Linked DNA regions of Homo sapiens: regions 2, 3 and 4 are each linked to region 1. Evidence: promoter capture Hi-C in 16 types of primary human blood cells and fetal thymus (Javierre and others, 2016). All regions are on one chromosome and are shown on one strand. Each heading gives the region's core, a stretch centred on a gene start or on the middle of the fragment in contact. The rest is flanking DNA. Distances are from core to core; before and after follow the strand shown. Region 1 holds the start of ZNHIT2 (zinc finger HIT-type containing 2). Region 2 overlaps PYGM (glycogen phosphorylase, muscle associated). Region 3 overlaps SF1 (splicing factor 1). Region 4 holds the start of MALAT1 (metastasis associated lung adenocarcinoma transcript 1).

The links. The method cuts DNA at HindIII sites, captures the fragments that hold promoters and counts their contacts. A CHiCAGO score of 5 or more calls a contact.
Region 2: a fragment that was not itself captured here is called in contact with the fragment with the promoter of ZNHIT2 in region 1 in 1 of 17 cell types (naive B cells); the score reaches 5.2 in naive B cells.
Region 3: a contact is called between a fragment that was not itself captured here and the fragment with the promoter of ZNHIT2 in region 1, in 3 of 17 cell types (naive CD8 T cells, naive CD4 T cells and M1 macrophages). The highest score is 5.8, in naive CD8 T cells.
Region 4: a contact is called between a fragment that was not itself captured here and the fragment with the promoter of ZNHIT2 in region 1, in 1 of 17 cell types (fetal thymus). The highest score is 5.4, in fetal thymus.

What each region holds. Positions count from the first base shown.
Region 1 is chr11:65,115,403-65,118,990 of GRCh38, reverse strand. ZNHIT2 (zinc finger HIT-type containing 2) reads left to right here and starts at 1,290. Exons shown (of 1, transcript NM_014205.4): 1 at 1,290-2,588. The coding sequence starts at 1,338. The coding sequence ends at 2,549. It overlaps TM7SF2 (transmembrane 7 superfamily member 2), which reads right to left. Exons shown (of 10, transcript NM_003273.6): 9 at 3,393-3,515; 10 at 2,761-3,098. The coding sequence ends at 2,938. RefSeq lists enhancers at 1,040-1,334, 1,327-1,870, 2,417-2,961, 2,962-3,507. The HindIII fragment of the contact is 3,565 bases long and covers 1,221-3,588 here.
Region 2 is chr11:64,749,009-64,752,659 of GRCh38, reverse strand. PYGM (glycogen phosphorylase, muscle associated) reads left to right here. Exons shown (of 20, transcript NM_005609.4): 13 at 156-257; 14 at 589-736; 15 at 1,005-1,063; 16 at 1,194-1,335; 17 at 2,077-2,284. Among named protein-coding and RNA genes, the nearest start is that of RASGRP2, 6.7 kb to the right of the region's middle. The HindIII fragment of the contact is 2,045 bases long and covers 228-2,272 here.
Region 3 is chr11:64,768,244-64,772,271 of GRCh38, reverse strand. It overlaps SF1 (splicing factor 1), which reads left to right. Exons shown (of 13, transcript NM_004630.4): 4 at 1,864-2,016; 5 at 2,219-2,308; 6 at 2,663-2,846; 7 at 2,934-3,049; 8 at 3,143-3,250; 9 at 3,986-4,028. Among named protein-coding and RNA genes, the nearest start is that of SF1, 8.3 kb to the left of the region's middle. The HindIII fragment of the contact is 2,511 bases long and covers 1,420-3,930 here.
Region 4 is chr11:65,496,648-65,500,352 of GRCh38, reverse strand. MALAT1 (metastasis associated lung adenocarcinoma transcript 1) reads right to left here and starts at 1,308. Exons shown (of 1, transcript NR_002819.5): 1 at 1-1,308. It also overlaps TALAM1. RefSeq lists enhancers at 1,418-1,497, 1,548-1,617, 2,178-2,247, 2,308-2,547, 2,777-2,921 and 2 more, a silencer at 2,588-2,647 and a cis regulatory region at 2,841-2,856. The HindIII fragment of the contact is 1,283 bases long and covers 1,038-2,320 here.

The DNA.
Region 1 (3,588 bases), core at 41-2,540:
TCAAGCCTAGAGGACTGTGTGAAGATGGGGAAGAGGTGATGTCTAGGGCTGGGGGCGGGCAGATCCTGCAAGGCCTTGTCAGCCATAGAGAGGAGTTTGGGTTTGAGTCCAAGTGCAATGGAGGGTCGCAGAAGGGTTTTGAGTAACAGATGGATCTCATCTGACTTGTGATCTAATTTCTCTGGCAGGTTTTTCTGGAGGGCTGGCAAGAAAGTTAGGAAAAACACTTAATGTGTTGTCATCCACATGAGGGGTCAGGAAGCTTAGACCACCAGTAGTAGCAGGGATGCAAAGAACACTCACAGTTTGGTTCATCACACCCCCCACTCCACCACAAGAGTGAGCTCTATTAGAACAGGGACCCCCGGCTCCCTTTGATGTGCATTGTGTTCTTGGCACCTAGAATGGGGCCTGCACTTAATAAGATGGATGAATAGTGGTATTTAATGAGAAGATACTTAATGAAAAGAAGAGGCAGTTTTGGAGGAAAAAAATCATAGGAGCTCAGATATTTCTTAAATGCTGCTTTCTATTTATCTTTTTGAGGTGGAGTTTCTCTCTGTGGCCCAGGCTCGCAGGCTGGAGAGCGGTGGCGCGATCTCGGCTAACTGCAGCCTCCACCTCCCGGGTTCAAGCGATTCCCCTGCCTCAGCCTCAGGAGTAGCTGGGACTACAAGCACCCGTCCCCCACGCCCGGCTAATTTTGTATTCTTAGTAGAGACGGGGTTTCTCCATGTTGGTCAGGCTGGTCTCAAACTCCTGACCTCAGGTCATCTGCCCGCCTCGGCCTCCCAAAATGCTGGGATTACCGGCGTGACCCACCGTACCTGGCCCTAACTGTCCTTTTATTTGTCTGTGTCCCCTAGTGCATTTTATTTGTCTGTGTCCAGCGCAGGGATGCATCGCCTCCCGTAGGCTTGGCACAATTAGTGGCCCAGAGTAGGTGCCTAGTAAAGATGGATTTATGCCACAGCACATTGTAGTGCTAAAAAGAGGGTTTTCTCTTTAGATGATCGGGCCACGTTTTGGTGTGACCACTAGGGGGAGACGTGGCACCGGCGAAGCGCTCGCCAGACCCATTTTTTCGCTCCTTGCGTCATCGCATAGGGCGGGGCTCGTACCTGACGCCCGGCTTCTGGGCCTGCTCTCGCCCTACTAGGGAAAGGGGTGGGGCTTGGCTTTCGGGCGTGGGCGGAAATTGCCGAGAATCCTCGGAAGCTTTGCGAAAACACAGCGCGCCGTCGGCCGCGCTGCGAACCGGAAGTAATCGAAGAAGCCCCGGAAGTTTCGAACTACCACCGGCGTGCGTTCGCAGGTAGATCGCGGTGCCAGTTGCCATGGAGCCGGCCGGGCCCTGTGGCTTCTGCCCGGCGGGGGAGGTCCAGCCAGCGCGTTACACCTGCCCTCGCTGTAATGCGCCCTACTGCTCGCTGCGCTGCTACCGGACGCATGGCACCTGCGCAGAAAACTTCTACCGTGACCAGGTGCTGGGAGAGCTCCGCGGTTGCAGCGCTCCTCCCAGCCGCCTAGCAAGCGCCCTACGCCGGCTGCGTCAGCAACGCGAGACCGAGGACGAGCCTGGGGAAGCAGGCCTCAGCTCCGGCCCGGCGCCCGGCGGCCTATCGGGACTCTGGGAGCGGCTGGCGCCGGGCGAAAAAGCTGCCTTCGAGCGGCTGCTGAGCCGCGGTGAGGCCGGGCGGCTGCTGCCTCCATGGCGGCCGTGGTGGTGGAACCGCGGAGCCGGACCGCAGCTTCTGGAGGAGCTGGATAATGCCCCGGGTAGTGACGCCGCGGAGCTGGAGCTCGCCCCTGCGAGGACCCCGCCGGATTCTGTGAAAGATGCCTCCGCCGCGGAGCCCGCGGCCGCCGAGCGGGTTCTTGGAGATGTCCCGGGGGCCTGCACGCCCGTCGTACCCACCCGCATCCCCGCGATAGTCAGCCTGAGCCGCGGCCCAGTCTCGCCGCTCGTGCGCTTCCAGCTGCCCAATGTGCTGTTCGCCTACGCGCATACTCTCGCCCTGTATCACGGCGGTGACGACGCGCTGCTCTCTGACTTCTGTGCCACACTGCTCGGCGTTTCCGGAGCCCTGGGTGCCCAGCAAGTCTTCGCCTCTGCGGAAGAAGCCCTGCAGGCGGCAGCCCACGTGCTGGAAGCAGGCGAGCACCCGCCGGGGCCCCTGGGCACACGAGGGGCTATGCACGAGGTCGCCCGCATCCTGCTGGGCGAGGGCCCGACCAACCAGAAAGGCTACACGCTGGCAGCACTGGGGGACCTGGCACAGACCCTGGGCCGTGCCCGGAAACAGGCCGTGGCTAGAGAAGAGCGAGATCATCTTTACCGGGCCCGGAAAAAGTGCCAGTTCCTCCTGGCCTGGACCAACGAAAATGAGGCGGCCCTCACACCCCTGGCCCTAGACTGCGCCAGGGCTCACCAAGCCCATGCTGTGGTAGCCGAGGAGGTGGCCGCCCTCACTGGGGAGCTGGAGCGGCTTTGGGGAGGCCCCGTGCCACCTGCCCCAAGAACTCTCATTGAGGAGCTCCCTAGCTGAACGGGTTACCCTGGTCATTAATAAAGCTGTGACTGGTCAGCCCTGTTGCTTGTTTCTGAGGGATAGCTATTGTCCCACCAGACCCCAGATTCCTGGGCCCACAAGCCACTGCTCAGCTTCTCCCTGATCAGTGCTGACCCAGCCAGTCCTAGGGGAGAGAAGTGCACCAAGGGTTCCCAGTGTTTATCCAAAGGAGGAAGAGCATCTCCGATTTTGGTCACTGGTTTCATTTTTTTCCTTGCTCTAAACCACCTCTTCTCTGAGGTTGTTCATCCTCAGGGCTGGGTGGGGTGCAAGCCCTTGAGTCCCAAGTGTGTCGAGGCTCCTGGTCCTGGGTGTGCTGGTGGATGAGTGGGCACATGCCCCCACCTGGGGTGGTGGAGCCGCTTCAGTAGATGTAGGGCATGATGCGGTAAGGCACACGCCGGCAGTACTCCTGCCAGGCCAGGCCGTACTTCTGCAGGCACTGCCGCTCATCCCGGGCCTCACGGTGCACCAGCAGCGCGGTGAAGTAGAGGAGGTAGAAGTAGGGCAGCAGGTGTGACACCCCTGTAGAGAAGGAGGCTCTGTGACCACCCTGCCGGCCCCTCCACCCCGCAGTTCACAAACGTTTCCACACCTCATGGCTCATGTGGGCATCGGGGCTCAGCAGCAAAAGCGCCAGGGTCTGCAGCAAAGCACACGGTACTAGGTTGGCACAGAGGTGTGCCCCAGCCACACACTGGGTCCACCCCCAGCTCTCTGACTACTCTCACTGGTGCATACCCAAAGTAGGCATCCTGTGGTCGCTGAGCCACCTCTTCCCCTCACATGTCCCTACCCATATCCACATGGGCCACTCACCGCAGGGCAAGGACCAAGCCAGAGCCATGATGAGGTCTCCAAGATAGTTGGGATGGCGGACCATACCCCACCACCCAGACACCAGCAGTTTCCGCCCTGTGGCTGTAGAGATGGTCTCAAGCCCTGGGGAAAGACAGCAGGGTGGAGAGTTCCCAGGAAGCCCAGCTGCCCCACCTCACCCATGGCCCTAGAGAAC
Region 2 (3,651 bases), core at 1-2,500, 370 kb after region 1:
TGCCCCATCTGGGCGGCTGGAGGAGGAGGGGCTGGGAGGGCCCCCAGAGCAGCCTGCTGGGTGAAGGGGGCTTGGCTGACCTGGAAATGGCCCCTTCTGTGTTGGGAGGAGGGAGGACATGGGGATGGGCTTGGCTGAGAGCCGTCTTCCCATAGCGCATCGGGGAGGACTTCATCTCTGACCTGGACCAGCTGCGCAAACTGCTCTCCTTTGTGGATGATGAAGCTTTCATTCGGGATGTGGCCAAAGTGAAGCAGGTGGGGAGAGATGCAATGTGGGACAGCTGTGCTGTGTGGAGAGCGCTGGAGGGGCCAGATGTCTGGGTCAGGCGTGGCAAATAGAGCTCATCTCTCCTGCCAGCCCAGGCCGTTGGTGGAAGTTGCCTGGAGTCTGTGGTGGGAAGGCATCATCTGACCTCACATGAACAGTGCTGACATTGATTAGCAATGTCTGCCCTGGTACAGGAGTGGACAGAAGTAGCCAGTGAGCCTCCTGGTAGCCATCCTCCTGGGGCTGACTGGAGTGTGGACTGTAGGATTTCCTGAGGCTGTGGCCTGTTGGTGAGCCCTTCCCCGTCTCTGCCTCCAGGAAAACAAGTTGAAGTTTGCTGCCTACCTAGAGAGGGAATACAAAGTCCACATCAACCCCAACTCACTCTTCGACATCCAGGTGAAGCGGATTCACGAATATAAACGACAGCTCCTCAACTGCCTCCATGTCATCACCCTGTACAACCGTGAGTGGCAGCCACTCTACCCTGTCTCTCAGTGCTCCCCCGTGTTCCTGCGGCATAGTACATATTGCCCAACCAACATCTCCTTTGGACTTGGGACTACTCTTGGGACATGGAATTATCCCCATTTCACAGATGGGCAAACTGAGGCTAAGAGAGCATAGCAAGTGATTGTTCGAGTCAGGCCTACGGTGTCCCAGCCCAGCCTCTGTCAGGAGCTACTACCCAGAGGGAAAGGTAGGCCCACTGGATCCCTCTCGTTTCTCCACAGGCATCAAGAGGGAGCCCAATAAGTTTTTTGTGCCTCGGACTGTGATGATTGGAGGGAAGGTGAGAAGCCAGGCTCCAGCCCTGGGCTCCCGTCCTTTGATATATCCAGGTTGAGGTCAGCCCAGCTGAGTTGCAGGATAGGGGGTGGGGGGCCAGGCAGTAGAGCTGACCCCAGACTTTGTCCCCTCAGGCTGCACCTGGGTACCACATGGCCAAGATGATCATCAGACTCGTCACAGCCATCGGGGATGTGGTCAACCATGACCCGGCAGTGGGTGACCGCCTCCGTGTCATCTTCCTGGAGAACTACCGAGTCTCACTGGCCGAGAAAGGTGGGTGCTGCCAACAGGGACCCTAGGGAGGCTCTGACTAGTTCAGTCTCAGGAAGAGGTATCAGTCGTCTCTTCCTGGGATACTTGTACTTGAAAGAAGAATCTGGAGAGGGCAATGCTTAAACCATGAGGAGGCCAGGCGCAGTGGCCCATGCCTGTAATCCCAGCACTTTGGGAGGCCAAGGTGGGTGGATCACCTGAGGTCAGGAGTTCGAGACCAGCCTGGCCAACATGGTGAAACCCCGTCTCTACTAAAAATACAAAAATTAGCTGGGCGTGATGGCAGGTGCCTATAATCCCAGCTACTTGGGAGGCTGAAGCAGGAGAATCACTTGAACCTGGGAGGCGGAGGTTGCAGTGAGCCGAGATCACGCCATTGCACTTCAGCCTGGGCAACAAAAGCAAAACTCCGTCTCAAAAAACAAGAGGAAACAAAACAAAGCAAAAACCCCATGAGGATGCCCTCTAATGGTGGAATTTCAGGCAGTACAGGGTGAAATTACCTTCAAATCTGCAACAGAGGTGGGGAAATCCAGGTTGGACCTAGATGGTCAAGAATCAACAAGAGGTAGAGGGCAGTGGGGGTGCGGTGTGAGAGGGAGGCTTGGCTGGTGAAGACTGGGAGTTTGGGGTGGGGCGACTCTGAGTCCAGCTATGCCTGGGGCCAGCCTAATCTGAGAGTCCCCAGCTGGTGTGAGGGTCTTCCCTGAGTTGACTTGTCCCCCTGCTGCCACCCCACAGTGATCCCAGCTGCAGACCTCTCTGAGCAGATCTCCACTGCGGGCACTGAAGCCTCAGGCACCGGCAACATGAAGTTCATGCTCAACGGGGCTCTGACCATTGGCACCATGGACGGGGCCAATGTGGAGATGGCAGAAGAGGCGGGAGAGGAAAACTTCTTCATCTTTGGCATGCGGGTGGAGGATGTGGATAAGCTTGACCAAAGAGGGTATGGGGGTCAGGGTTCACGGGCAAAAGACACCCAGGTGTGGCTGCTGGAGAGTGGTGCTGGGAGCAAGCGGCACGTCTGGAAAGACTGGTCCAGGCCCAGCAAGGTCTTGGTCATGGCCAGCAGGATTCTGGGAAACTTTAGAGGGCGCTTACAGCAAATAAGGTTAATGAAATTGGAAAAGAAAGAAGTAATATAGAACTGAAGGAAAAGGAAGAGAATATTATATCAACCCTAAGAGATAATATTGTTTGGGAAATGGAAGTAAAAAAATCCTTGCTCTACGCCGGGTGCGGTGGCTCACACCTGTAATCCCAGCACTTTGGGAGGCCAAGGCGGGCGGATCACAAGGTCAAGAGATCCAGACCATCCTGGCTAACACGGTGAAACCCCATCTCTACTAAAAATACAAAAAATTAGCCGGGCGTGTTGGCAGGCGCCTGTAGTCCCAGCTGATCGGGAGGCTGAGGCAGGAGAATGGTGTGAATCCAGGAGGCGGAGCTTGCAGTGAGCCGAGATCGCGCCACTGCGCTCCAGCCTGGGTAACAGAGTGAGACTCTGCCTCAAAAAAAAAAAAAAAAATCCTTGCTCCCTGAAAGCCATGGGCAAAAGGGAAATATGGGCACAGTAGTTACAAGGGGCCTATGGTCAGAAACAGTTCTTCAGAGAAGACATTATCCTGGCATTACATTAAAAAATTTTATTTTATTTTATTTTAATGTATTTTTTTTTTTGAGACGGAGTCTCGCTCTGTCACCCAGGCTGGAGTGCAGTGGCGCGATCTTGGCTCACTGCAAGCTCCGCCTCCTGGGTTCACACCATTCTCCTGCCTCTACCTCCCGAGTAGCTGGGACTACAGGCACCTGCTGCCACGCCTGGCTAATTTTTTGCATTTTTAGTAGAGACGGGGTTTCACCATGTTAGCCAGGATGGTCTCGATCTGCTGACCTCGTGATCTGCCTGCCTCGGCCTCCCAAAGTGCTGGGATTACAGGCGTGAGCCACTGCGCCCGGCCTTTTGTTTTGTTTTGAGATGGAGTCTTGCTCTGTCACCCAGGCCGCAGTGCAATGGCACGATCTTGGCTCACCGCAACCTCCACCGCCCGGGTACAAGCGATTCTCCTGCCTCAGCCTCCTGAGTAGCTGGGATTACAGATACCCACCACCACGCCCAGCTAATTTTTGTATTTTTAGTAGAGACGGGGTTTCATCATTTTGGCCAGGATGGTCTCTATCTCCTGACCTCAGGTGATCCACCCTCCTCGGCCTCCCAAGTGCTGGGCTTACAGGGGTGAGCCACTGCGCCTGGCCTATTTATTTTTATGTTTTTGAGACAGAGTCACTCTGTCACCTAGGCTGGAGTGCAAT
Region 3 (4,028 bases), core at 1,426-3,925, 350 kb after region 1:
TTTCCCTTTAATAATATGTCTACAGGTCACCAGTCAATTCCTCCAAAGGTTGAATTTTTAACAAACCTTCTTTGCTTCCTGGATAACTGGGATTAGAATTTAGTTGATCTAGCCGATGCCTGTTGGAGGTGAAGAAGTCGGGCCAGTCTAACCTCTAGAATACTAGCTTTTGCCTTTCACTTCTGCAATTTGGGAGGAGGTTAAACTGTTGTGAGGCCTTCACATGGCCAATTGGGTGCTGGTAAGACTTGTTTTTGTAACTAGCTAAGAATGCTTAATTCTAGACAGCTGTGGGGTGGGAATTAGAAATGTCAAGCATGTTAGAAATAAAACCAGAGCAGGGTTTTTCCTCCCTTCTATTCAGTTTTGAAAGAGGCCCTAATGCCTGATTGGTTTTGCTTTTGAGCCCAGGTTGGAGGGAAATGCATGGGTTTTCTTAATTAAGATAATTTCTTAAAAAGGTGTTATATCACTTAAGCCACTTTATTGTTATTTTGATGCTGCTTAACTTGCACAGTAAAAACATGTTTAAAACTTTTCTTGTAGACTTAAATGTATAAGATGGTAGTCTAATGAGCTGGGGTATGTTTGCTTTTGTTCACTCTTAATGGATTGTGCTAACAGTTTATACAAATGCTAGAAACGGAGGTGTCATTTAGCCGTCATTAGCCATGAACAAACCTGACCTTTTATTCCATCGTGTGTGTAACGTGGTGTGACATGGTTCCCTTTAGGCTGAAGACAGTGGGAGCAGCCGAGTTCAGTCCTTGCTCTCCAACTAGGCAAGGTTCTCTCAACTAAACCAAGGGTATAGGAGTCTTGATTACTTTCAGTATGTTTTTTTAATAACCTGATCCACATGGTCTCTTCCCTTCTTGCAGCTGCTACTAAATTTTCATTCAGAATATCAAGCTATGGTCCTTTTTGTAATCTTAACTCAAAATTCTAGGAGTGTAACCTCTCTTTTTTATTACCGCAAAATCCAGCTGTGGTAAACTGACCATTTTATCATTACATTTTTTTACTTGTAGCAACAGCATTTTACTCCTTAAAAAAATGAGAGAGAGAAAATCTGCTTTCTGGACTTGTAAACTCTGGTGGAGAATCATAGGTTTTCCCCTTGCTGTTTGCAGGTTCAGACCCTAGACAAGTATGACCAAATCTGCATTTGCAGCCTCTCGCAGAAGCTGCTTTAGCACTTTAACGTTTTTCTCTACCCAGACTCCCCAACCTCGAACAGCCAGAAAACAGGTTGTCTCCTGGGCCTTGGACACAGCCAGCCAGGCCATTGAAGGAAAAGCAAAGACGAAGCGAACCATCTCTCTCCATTGTGGGGGCCAAGTAGCTGCAGTAGCCTTCAGTCCCAGTTGCATTGGGTTAAAGAGCTCATACATACTATGTGTTAGGGGTACAGAAGCTTTTCCTCATAGGGCATGAGCTCTCCAAGAGTTAACCTTTTGCCTAAACTTGGGGTTTCTGTGGTTCATAAAGTTGGGATATGTATTTTTTTTCAAATGGAAGAAAATCCGTATTTGGCAAGAAGACTCCAGGGGATGATACTGTCCTTGCCACTTACAGTCCAAAGATTTTCCCCAAAGAATAGACATTTTTTCCTCTCATCACTTCTAGATGCAAAATCTTTTATTTTTTTCCTTTCTCACACACACCCCAGACCCCTAACGTTAAGCCAGCTTCCATCTCCCCATTCCACACGATCTTGAGTAGCACACGTTATGGTCGGTTCCTCCGAAGAGTGTTGTATTAGGGTCTGAGAGGCAGAGGGGCTGGGAAAGACTTGTTATAGTCCGTGTGGGAATGAGAGAAGTCGGTGCAGAATAGTAAACGGGAGTCTGTTTCCCACAGGTCCCCTTCCCCTGAGCCCATCTACAATAGCGAGGGGAAGCGGCTTAACACCCGAGAGTTCCGCACCCGCAAAAAGCTGGAAGAGGAGCGGCACAACCTCATCACAGAGATGGTTGCACTCAATCCGGATTTCAAGCCACCTGCAGATTACAAGTAAGCGGAGGGGCTCGGTCATCTGGGATGAAGACACATGCAGATCATGGGTGACCTGCTGGGATGGGACAGTATTGGTACTACTCACCTCTTGCCTCAAGTCACCCATAATTAGCACTTGGTACCAATATTTGGTTTTAGAAAAGCCGCTGGCTGTGTCATTCTCCAGAAATGTGCGGTGACACAGGCTTTTCTTTCTTAGACCTCCAGCAACACGTGTGAGTGATAAAGTCATGATTCCACAAGATGAGTACCCAGAAATCAACTTTGTGGGGCTGCTCATCGGGCCCAGGTGAGTAACTGCTGGTCTATAGGATATAGAATTCCTTTAGAGCCTGTGAGATGTGTCCGTTTTGTGCCTAATTGGGGACTGTTGGCTTACTTTTCCCCTTTTTGGTAGGACATTTCATTTTGGCTGAATTAATGCCTTTCTGTGAGAAGGTGTCTTAACTTCCCCACTAGTGCGGAGAAGTCAAATCCTCAGGTTTACTGTGGCTGACCATAATATAGAGTTCATGGAGCTCTTGGTGGGAAAATCCAATTCTCTGCGCTTGTGGTTTCCCACCAATGCCAAATTGGTCCAGCCTCTCTTCCCTCTTGAGTGTGAATTTGTCAGGTATAAACTTAGTCATTTCTGCCTCTCTAGAGGGAACACCCTGAAGAACATAGAGAAGGAGTGCAATGCCAAGATTATGATCCGGGGGAAAGGGTCTGTGAAAGAAGGGAAGGTTGGGCGCAAAGATGGCCAGATGTTGCCAGGAGAAGATGAGCCACTTCATGCCCTGGTTACTGCCAATACAATGGAGAACGTCAAAAAGGCAGTGGAACAGGTGAGCGGTGAGCCCAGAAAGGAAGCCTCCTAGCAGAAACCTAGGTGGAGGCCCTAAGCACTTAACTGTCCATTGCATTTTCACTAGATAAGAAACATCCTGAAGCAGGGTATCGAGACTCCAGAGGACCAGAATGATCTACGGAAGATGCAGCTTCGGGAGTTGGCTCGCTTAAATGGGACCCTTCGGGAAGACGATAACAGGTATGTGATCAGTTTAAAGGAGAGTGTAGAGACCTGAAGAACCTATGGAAGTAGAGATTGTTCCCTTGCATTGACCTCTTTTTCCTTTAATAGGATCTTAAGACCCTGGCAGAGCTCAGAGACCCGCAGCATTACCAACACCACAGTGTGTACCAAGTGTGGAGGGGCTGGCCACATTGCTTCAGACTGTAAATTCCAAAGGTGAGGGGCTGGCTCTTGCGGTTTCCTGGTAGCCTGCGATGTGCAGGACAACTTTTCTGGCACATTCATTGGTTGCTGTTAATCTTACCAAGAGAAACATCCTTTCTGTTAGTGTGGTCTGTAATGGTGTGATTTAAAGCCCAGGATGATTAGAAATAGGCTGTACAGATACCCCTGTTTGTTTGTCTTGAGCCCAAGAAAACTGGAAGTTTCCATTTTGGGTATGTTTTTACTGGGGCTCAATAGGAAATTCACTGCTTTTGCTGTTCAGAATTGGTTCAAGAAGACTAAGCAATCTCTACAGATTTCTGACCAGTTGCAAGTCAGCACTCGATATCAACACTTTCTGACTGGCTGGCGAATATGTAAGGTTTTGTTTAGGAAGTTCGTTCTGGCAGTTGTGCCAGTCTTGCATAGATTTTCCTTTCCTCAAACTGGGAATGAAGTTTGATGAAATTGACTTGAGAGAACCTGTGCTTCATCGGTGCTCAGGGTCTCCTGTGCTCTTCGCCCAGGGGCCCCTCTACTCTGGTGATCCCAGATGCAGAACTGGGCACGAAACTGAAGATCTGATGAGACTGTTGAGAGCCATGCCCAGTAAGGGGTTAGAAAGATGTGTGATGATCTGGTGATTGAATTCTTCAGAACTTTCCATATGTTGGTTCCTCAGGATAAAAGCTTCCTTCTTAACAAGTTTTTCCCCTTTCTCTGTTTGTGTCCCCCACCCCACTTCAGGCCTGGTGATCCTCAGTCAGCTCAGGATAAAGCACGGATGGAT
Region 4 (3,705 bases), core at 430-2,929, 380 kb before region 1:
ATCTTAACTCAAAGTCCAATGCAAAAACATTAAGTTGGTAATTACTCTTGATCTTGAATTACTTCCGTTACGAAAGTCCTTCACATTTTTCAAACTAAGCTACTATATTTAAGGCCTTCCAAATTCTTCTAACTCTTCCAAAAGCCTTCTGCCTTAGTTTTTTTTAAATTACACCAGTCCTTTTAGTAGCTTTTTGATGTGATTTTTAACCAACTTCCCCTTCTAGCTTCAAGTATTCTTCTAAATTGGTTCTGGTCTACGTAAACACCCTCATCTTCTCAAGCTTTACCTTCTAACTTCTGCACCACCAGAAATTAAATTGATGGGCTTTTAAAATAAATTGGTTACCAATAATTTCCTCATTTTTTCAGTGCTATTTTATCCAATTTTTGGCTTTATATTTTTCTATCTTCTATACTTCTCCAATACTTGTCTTAGCTTGTTTTTCATTTTCTATCTGAAACTCTTGACAATATTTTCATTTTCTATCTTGTTTCTATCTTCCAATTTTCTTCTAAGTTTGTACATTTTGCCCTTAGCTTTTTGTTTCCTAGCTTGTCTTTTTTCTTCTGCTTCCTACTTTTCAGGTTTAAATTTATCTTTTTTCTTCTAAAAGTATGTTTTTATCTTCTAATTTCCCTATCTTCTCTATTCTTTTCTTCGCCTTCCCGTACTTCTGTCTTCCAGTTTTCCACTTCAAACTTCTATCTTCTCCAAATTGTTTCATCCTACCACTCCCAATTAATCTTTCCATTTTCGTCTGCGTTTAGTAAATGCGTTAACTAGGCTTTAAATGACGCAATTCTCCCTGCGTCATGGATTTCAAGGTCTTTTAATCACCTTCGGTTTAATCTCTTTTTAAAAGATCGCCTTCAAATTATTTTAATCACCTACAACTTTTAAACTAAACTTTAAGCTGTTTAAGTCACCTTCATTTTAATCTAAAAGCATTGCCCTTCTATTGGTATTAATTCGGGGCTCTGTAGTCCTTTCTCTCAATTTTCTTTTAAATACATTTTTTACTCCATGAAGAAGCTTCATCTCAACCTCCGTCATGTTTTAGAAACCTTTTATCTTTTCCTTCCTCATGCTACTCTTCTAAGTCTTCATATTTTCTCTTAAAATCTTAAGCTATTAAAATTACGTTAAAAACTTAACGCTAAGCAATATCTTAGTAACCTATTGACTATATTTTTTAAGTAGTTGTATTAATCTCTATCTTTCAAAGAGAAAAAAACTTATCTGCGGTTTCCTCAAGCTCCGCCTGCCCCCTCAGCAGAAGCCCCTGCGCTGGCTGCCTCAATGCCTACCGCACAGCTCGGGCGAGGCGTATTTATAGACGGAGAACAACTCGCATCACCGGAATTCGATCACCTTCCGCCGCCTTTGTGAGGGAGGCAAAAAGTAGTTCTTCGGTTAAAAATAGGTTCTAGTTTTACTTTTCTAGATTTTTCTTAACAGCTTATGGAACTTGAATGCAAACTACACATGCAGAAATACTTAAATTACTAGCGTGTGGAAAGATTTGAGCTGCAAACTTTAGACAAAAGAAACATGGAAATCATATTTTAAACGGGTCATCAAACACCTCACAAAACCCCCGGAACTTTTAAAATACCTCTTAAAGCACTTCTTGTGTTCTCTTGAGGGACAGTAGGTATAGTTTACCACCTTTTGAAGGAAGATTAAAGTGTGATAGTTCAGGGCTTTACTTTCCATTACGCAACTGAGCCCCAGCCTTGCAGGGACGGTTGAGAAGTGGCAAAATGGCGGACTTTCTCCCCCAACTGCTTGCAGTCCTGCGACTTGCTCCCAAGACAGCCACACGTTTTGCTTTTTTGTTCGAGAAATCGGAGCAGCACGGGCTGTCTGCTTGGGAAATCTTAGAAACGTGAAAACCCACTCTTGGAAAACGCCTCAATCCCACACCACAGAGCTGCTCCCCGCCTGAGCCCCGGGGGCCGTTGGCTGCCAGTGGCCCACTCTGATCTGCGGCCCCCCAGTTGCCGCCAGCCCCCCACGGCCCGCACGGAAATTTTTCTACCGTTTTTCAGCTTCCAGGCTCTCCTGAAAGTGCTCACAAGGCAAATCGCCATGGAAAGCGAGTTCAAGTGGCCTTTTAAAGTAGACCAACTAAGCGAATGGCTTTGTCTCCGAAGACACAGAGACCTTGGGCAGCCAGTCAGGGACACACCCAGAAGTGTTTACACTGCTCTGGGTCTGCTTTTTTAGGGGTTTTTGTTTTGCAGATTCTGTGTTATGCCTGGTTAGGTATGAGCTTCAGACCTTCTGAACCGGAGCAGGAAGAAAAATAAAAGCTTTCCTCCAAACCCCAAGACCAAACTGCAGAGTTTGAGTGGTTTTATCTAAATACCACCACCTGGAATGGCCAGCCTATAAGGACAGCTAAGATAGCAGCACAACTCGTCGCTGCGTCCCAAGGACTCTGGGAAACCTGGGCTCCCGGAGGCGTCAGAGGGGACCTGCCTTCAGGCGAGCTGAGGCTTCCCGGCGCCGGGCTTCTGCGTTGCTAAAATGGCGCTGCGCTTAAGAGGGCAGGAGAGGCCAGTTGCGGGGCCCCAGTCCTTTACAGAAGTCTCGGGCTGCAGGCTGCGGAGGGGAGAGCGGGGGCGGGGAGGGACTGCGCAACCGGTGGGGCTGCGTCAGGGACAAACGCCGGGGGAGGGGCGGCTCGCGAGCGCCGCGCAGGGATACGCGAGGGCCGTGAGCCGCCCTCCCTTTGTGAGGCGCTGGCTCGTGGGCGGGCGCCACTGGTTCTAACCGGCTCTAGCCGGTCCTGGCCGCCTTCCCGGAGCTGTGGCGGTTGGCGCAGCGCGTGACTGCGCACGCGCGCCCCGCCCTAACGCCTGTGCCTGTTCTGGGGAATGGCATGGGGGCGGGGTGGCAGCTGGCCTGGGAACTTCTCGGTCGCTACTCTGCGCTGTCACTGCACTTGGGGGCTGGTCTTTCTTTCGTGGAGCTGCTGCCCAACTTCCATTTTCAGTCTAGGTCTTCCTTTCCCACCTCTCTCCTGTCCTTTGTCATTTCCTCCATATAGTCTCGACGTCATCCATTAATTTAAAATCAGAACACAAACCTCGTGTAGCTATCAAGGGCCATGGCATTATTGTAAAATATCTTCGTCGTTTGTATGTCACCAGGTCTTACTAGTCTAGAATTCTCGGGGCAGAAGTGGTCTCAGGCTGACCTTGCAGCAGCCTAATTTTTTAGAAAAGAAACTGAAGCAATGACCTAAAATGGAGAGTTCCAGGGCACACAAAGCTTGGAGCTGGACGGGGTGGTGACACCCACCCTCTCCGCTCCCTCACCCCCGGGTCTTTGGAACCTGTATCCATGGCTTGTTTTTAGGCAGTCAACTCCGAGGGGAGAGATTAGTGACGCTGTATAGGTTAGGATGGCAAAACTAACACAATGATACAGCAACTCTATGAAGTTGATTTCTAAAACTCCTTTGGCTCCTGTAAATGATGCAGGTTGTGTACGGTGTTGGGGAGCTGCCCTGGGGGCTCCAGGAAATGAGGGTCCTGTTTTCTGGGCCAACTCCCTGTCCCCACCTGCCCACATAAAGCAGGGCCTGTTGAAGCAGCTGTTCTCAATTGACGCTGGTGAAACTGTTCTTGTTTTCTTTTCTTTTCTTTTTTATTTTTAAGCCTGTAAGAGTGGAATATTACTGAGATGCAGCCG